2 separate regions of the Homo sapiens genome follow, and region 1 is linked to region 2. The links are contacts of gene promoters, found by promoter capture Hi-C in blood cells and fetal thymus (Javierre and others, 2016). All regions are on one chromosome and are shown on one strand. Each heading gives the region's core, a stretch centred on a gene start or on the middle of the fragment in contact. The rest is flanking DNA. Distances are from core to core; before and after follow the strand shown. Region 1 overlaps DNMT1 (DNA methyltransferase 1). Region 2 holds the start of RAVER1 (ribonucleoprotein, PTB binding 1).

The links. The method cuts DNA at HindIII sites, captures the fragments that hold promoters and counts their contacts. A CHiCAGO score of 5 or more calls a contact.
Region 1: a fragment that was not itself captured here is called in contact with the fragment with the promoter of RAVER1 in region 2 in 1 of 17 cell types (erythroblasts); the score reaches 5.7 in erythroblasts.

What each region holds. Positions count from the first base shown.
Region 1 is chr19:10,136,348-10,139,047 of GRCh38, reverse strand. It overlaps DNMT1 (DNA methyltransferase 1), which reads left to right. Exons shown (of 41, transcript NM_001130823.3): 35 at 443-609; 36 at 1,039-1,216; 37 at 1,768-1,963. Among named protein-coding and RNA genes, the nearest start is that of EIF3G, 18 kb to the right of the region's middle. RefSeq lists an enhancer at 2,408-2,700. The HindIII fragment of the contact is 6,913 bases long and covers 1-2,700 here.
Region 2 is chr19:10,332,079-10,334,778 of GRCh38, reverse strand. RAVER1 (ribonucleoprotein, PTB binding 1) reads left to right here and starts at 1,250. Exons shown (of 13, transcript NM_133452.3): 1 at 1,250-1,490. The coding sequence starts at 1,272. It overlaps ICAM3 (intercellular adhesion molecule 3), which reads left to right. Exons shown (of 7, transcript NM_002162.5): 5 at 1-251; 6 at 371-619; 7 at 720-1,003. The coding sequence ends at 922. RefSeq lists enhancers at 1-225, 850-989, 1,230-1,449, 940-1,856, 1,857-2,700 and a silencer at 1,622-1,845. The HindIII fragment of the contact is 8,385 bases long and covers 1-2,700 here.

The sequences.
Region 1 (2,700 bases), core at 91-2,590, 200 kb after region 2:
GGCAAGCACTTGGCTACCCGGTCCCCTAGCTCAGCCTCAGGGCGACTCAGGCTCACCAGACAAGACTTGTTGCAGCCACGTTCTCTGTCCTTGTGACCACAGCCATCAGGGAAGCGACAGGGCTCCTGGTCTCCAGTGTTCTCCCCGAGTGCTAAGACCTTGGGGCCCTTGCAGTGCTTTCAGAGCTGGCCGGACTTCCCCGCAGGGTTTGCTCCCACCTTCCCCAGTGGCTGTCCCCTGGGCTCAGCTGCTTTTGTTCTTTATCTGCTCCAAACTCCTCTGACCAGGAGCACGCCTGCTGAGGTAACTGGGGATTTCTGCAAGTGCACTCCGCATTGGCCAGCCACTCCCGACTCAGGCTGCTGACCCTGGGCCTGGGTCTGGCCAGTCCAGTTGGGAGTGTCCCACTGACGGTGGGGTTGTCCGTCCTTCTCCCCCACAGGCCGGTCAGTACGGCGTGGCCCAGACTAGGAGGCGGGCCATCATCCTGGCCGCGGCCCCTGGAGAGAAGCTCCCTCTGTTCCCGGAGCCACTGCACGTGTTTGCTCCCCGGGCCTGCCAGCTGAGCGTGGTGGTGGATGACAAGAAGTTTGTGAGCAACATAACCAGGTAGGTGGCCCCCGTCGCTCCTCCACACACTGCCGAGCAGGCCTCAGTAGCTCATGGGGCCCGTGAGTACTCCCTGGTGAGGCTTGGGGAGGAGAGGATGGTACAGCATCTGCCCTGCCACACGGTGCTCTGCCACATGGCACTCTGCCACCTGTGGTCTCCAGTTCTGACCCTGCATCATCTGCTTCCCTAGTAGATAGCATGTGCAGAGCGGCCAGCCGCATGCTTGGCTGTGGTCATCCACAAAGCCCACGCCATAGCCCCATCCCCCCTTCCAGATGGCATCCAGGCACACTGCCACCCATGTGACCTCGGGCAGTGCTGTGATCTCGGGAGAAGGCCATCTGAGCAGGCAGGGGGTGGCACCTGTGATGAGGGGACAGCTGCTGCGTGCATCTCCAGAGGTGTTGACCTCCTCCTCTGTTGCAGGTTGAGCTCGGGTCCTTTCCGGACCATCACGGTGCGAGACACGATGTCCGACCTGCCGGAGGTGCGGAATGGAGCCTCGGCACTGGAGATCTCCTACAACGGGGAGCCTCAGTCCTGGTTCCAGAGGCAGCTCCGGGGCGCACAGTACCAGCCCATCCTCAGGGACCACATCTGTAAGGTAATGGCACCCTGACAGAGCGGCTCCTCCTCGAGGCCCAGCCCAGCAGCCTCGTGGGAACAGTCAGCCTGCCCAAGACTCAGGGGAGACATGGAATCTGATCCCAGGCTCCTCCTCCCGAGTCCTCAGCCTTTGTGTGACCCCTGGTCTCTCTTGCATGGTCATGGGAAGTGTCAGAGCTCCCGCAGTCCTGGACTTGGTCTGGAATGGTGTCAAGCCACTGCCCACCCACCACTGCCTTCCCCCTTGCTGCCTCTCCCCGCATGTTTTCCCAGGATGCCAAGACCAGCCCTTTCACCATCCCCTGGCACCACTCCCCTTCCCCCACCCTAAAGGCTCAGCTTAGATTCCCACGCTCTCCTACACCTGCGCTGCCTCAGGTCCCTGCCGTGGCCTCGAGCCAAGTGCGATATCCCTGACTGTCTCTTTCCCGATGGGCGTGAGCCCCAGGGGGCTTCCTGGTCACCATGGTGTTCCCAGCTCCCAGCCCACCATGGATGCTCGGATGCTGCTCACATGAGGTGACAGCTGGGCCCCCCACACTCTTTCAGGACATGAGTGCATTGGTGGCTGCCCGCATGCGGCACATCCCCTTGGCCCCAGGGTCAGACTGGCGCGATCTGCCCAACATCGAGGTGCGGCTCTCAGACGGCACCATGGCCAGGAAGCTGCGGTATACCCACCATGACAGGAAGAACGGCCGCAGCAGCTCTGGGGCCCTCCGTGGGGTCTGCTCCTGCGTGGAAGGTGGGTCCTGTAAGTTGTGGTTCCCGGTGGGCTGAGGGGAAGGAAGGCAGAGCCCTGGGCCTTTGGCCTGTGAACCTGGAGGCCAGGGCAGGGCACAGACACACCAAGCCTGGGTGTCCCAGAGAAGGTAGCTGCTGACCATGTTGAGTAGTAAAAGCAGGCTGGGTTCATGGCCCACACCTATAATCCCAGCACTTTGGGAAACCAAGGCGGGAGGATCACTTGAGCCTGGGAGGTTGAGGAGGCTACAGTGAGCTGTGATTGTGCCATTGCACTCCAGCCTGGGAGACAGAGTGAGACCCTGTCTCTAAAAAGAAAAAAAAAAAACAATAAATAAATAATAAAAGCAGGTCAGGCACGATGGCTCACCTCTGTAATCCCAGCACTTTGGGAGGCCAAGGCAGGCAGATCACTTGAGATCAGGAGCTCGAGATCAGCCTGCCCAACATGGTGAAACCCCATCTCTATTAAAACTACAAAAATTAGCCGGGCGTGGTGTCGCACGCCTATAATCCCAGCTATTTGGGAGGCTGAGGCAGGAGAATCGCTTGAACCCCATAGGCAGAGGTTGCAGTGAGCCAAGATCATGCCATTGCACTCCAGCCTGGGCAACAGAGCGAGACATATAATACTAATAATAAAAACAGTGCCCAGAGAACGAGGATTGTTGGCTGCTCCACCCCAGGGGGCCCCTTGCACAGGAGGTGCCATCTCTGCCTCCCAAAGCTCTAAGAGCC
Region 2 (2,700 bases), core at 1-2,500:
CCTAGGACCCATTGTGAACCTCAGCGAGCCCACCGCCCATGAGGGGTCCACAGTGACCGTGAGTTGCATGGCTGGGGCTCGAGTCCAGGTCACGCTGGACGGAGTTCCGGCCGCGGCCCCGGGGCAGCCAGCTCAACTTCAGCTAAATGCTACCGAGAGTGACGACGGACGCAGCTTCTTCTGCAGTGCCACTCTCGAGGTGGACGGCGAGTTCTTGCACAGGAACAGTAGCGTCCAGCTGCGAGTCCTGTGTGAGTCGGTCACCCTGACCTTTAATCCCTCCACCCCTGCCCTGGAAAGATTAGACGCTCCTCTGCACCACTGTGCCTCGGGTGTGTTGGGTGTCTGATCACACATGGTGGTTCCACAGATGGTCCCAAAATTGACCGAGCCACATGCCCCCAGCACTTGAAATGGAAAGATAAAACGAGACACGTCCTGCAGTGCCAAGCCAGGGGCAACCCGTACCCCGAGCTGCGGTGTTTGAAGGAAGGCTCCAGCCGGGAGGTGCCGGTGGGGATCCCGTTCTTCGTCAACGTAACACATAATGGTACTTATCAGTGCCAAGCGTCCAGCTCACGAGGCAAATACACCCTGGTCGTGGTGATGGACATTGAGGGTGAGCTAACACGGGGCTGCGGGTCTGGACCGGTAAGCCGGGGGGCGGGGGGGTTGGAGACAGAAGGGACGCATATTGACTTAGCGCTTTCTCTGCACAGCTGGGAGCTCCCACTTTGTCCCCGTCTTCGTGGCGGTGTTACTGACCCTGGGCGTGGTGACTATCGTACTGGCCTTAATGTACGTCTTCAGGGAGCACCAACGGAGCGGCAGTTACCATGTTAGGGAGGAGAGCACCTATCTGCCCCTCACGTCTATGCAGCCGACAGAAGCAATGGGGGAAGAACCGTCCAGAGCTGAGTGACGCTGGGATCCGGGATCAAAGTTGGCGGGGGCTTGGCTGTGCCCTCAGATTCCGCACCAATAAAGCCTTCAAACTCCCTAATCTGTGGTTTGATTCCACCCGCGCTGCAAGTCTCTCCCACCCAGGTGCACATCCACTGAGTAGCGTCGCTGCGACGGAAGGGGGCGGGGCCTGTGGCGCGCAGACGCAGCTTGAACTCTTGAGAGGTGGGCTGGGGCTTAGCCAACGGGGCAAGGGGGGCGGGAAGGAGGTGGGGTTTCTCCCAGCCAATCGACGGGCGCGCCCTCGTTGCCGCTCTATGCCGCTCCGCCCCGGCTCGCTGGTCCCAGAAGGCGCCGGGTTTCCCAAGATGGCGGCGGACGTGTCCGTTACTCACCGGCCCCCGCTGAGCCCTAAGTCTGGGGCCGAAGTCGAAGCCGGCGATGCCGCGGAGCGCCGGGCGCCGGAAGAAGAGCTGCCGCCTCTAGATCCAGAAGAGATCCGGAAACGCCTGGAACACACCGAGCGCCAGTTCCGTAACCGCCGCAAGATACTGATCCGGGGCCTCCCGGGGGACGTGACCAACCAGGTATTGGGGGGGGCGGTGTAGGAGCGTGGCGGGAAATACCACGGTGCGCGTGCGCGGGGGGAACCGGGCGACACCAACGCTGAGGTGCGCGGGGGTCGTTGGCGGGGGCGCCCAAGCACCGGATCCACGCGGGATCGGGAGAGACCAAGAGCGGGACGTGGGGGGGCGATGATGAAAGGGGAAACCGACTGCGAAGTGAGGGAGGGCGTTGCTAGGGGCGACCACAGGCTTGGGCGACACCAAGTGATGGAAGCGGGCGGGGAATGGAAGGGGGCGGACAGCTTTGGTCCTGTTGGGGAATTGTGAATGGGCTGGTACATTGGACCACCAGTTGCCCCCTGCTTGGATGATGCTTTTCTCCACCCACTCTACCACAGGGTGGCGGGACCTCACATCCAGAAGTTTCAGGACTGCGGAGAGTACGCCCCTCCATATCACGCGTTTATTCACTGCTCTCAGAGATAAATCCGGAAGTTAACAGCAGCCCCTGGGTCTCAGCCCCCAAAACCTCAGGATTAATTTGGGAAAATGGGGTCTTCTGCCACCAGCCTACAGACCTACAGGAAGGAAGCGAGGCCTGTGTTCTATGGAGCCCCTCGTGGCTAATCTTCCTGCTAGGAGTGCCCTTCTCATGGGGCCAGCATGGGGCAGCGCTTCCCAATGCTCTTTGGACCCAGGGAAATGGCATCTATACTGCCCTGCCCTATGGCGGTGAAATAGGTTCTCGCTTCCTGCTGCTGAGATTCCCTGCTCTCCGGCCCACCAGCACACCGGGTGGGCACGTGGCTAGTGGAACCCCAGGGATGTTGGGAGGGGCTGAATTTGGGGACAGATCGGGACAGGGATCATTAAGGATGGTCAGGTTTCTTTCTGGGTCTTCCTCTCAGTGTCTGCAGTCTCTCAGCTGGGAACACATTGTCTCTCCTGCAAGATGCACAGTGTGTCTGGTCCCAGCAGGCGCCAGCACTTTGCCTTCAAAGCTGGCTTGAGAGGCTGGGCATGGTGGCTCATCCCTTTAATCCCAGCACTTTGAGAGGCTGAGGCAAGAGGCTGTATTGAGCCCAAGGGTTCGAGACTAGCCTGGGCGGTATAGTGAAACCCTCATCTCTACAAAAAATTTTTAAAAATTAGCCAGGCATGGTGGTGCGTGCCTGTAGTCCCAGCTACGCAGGAGGCTGAGGTGGGAGGATCACTTGAGCCTAGGAGGTTG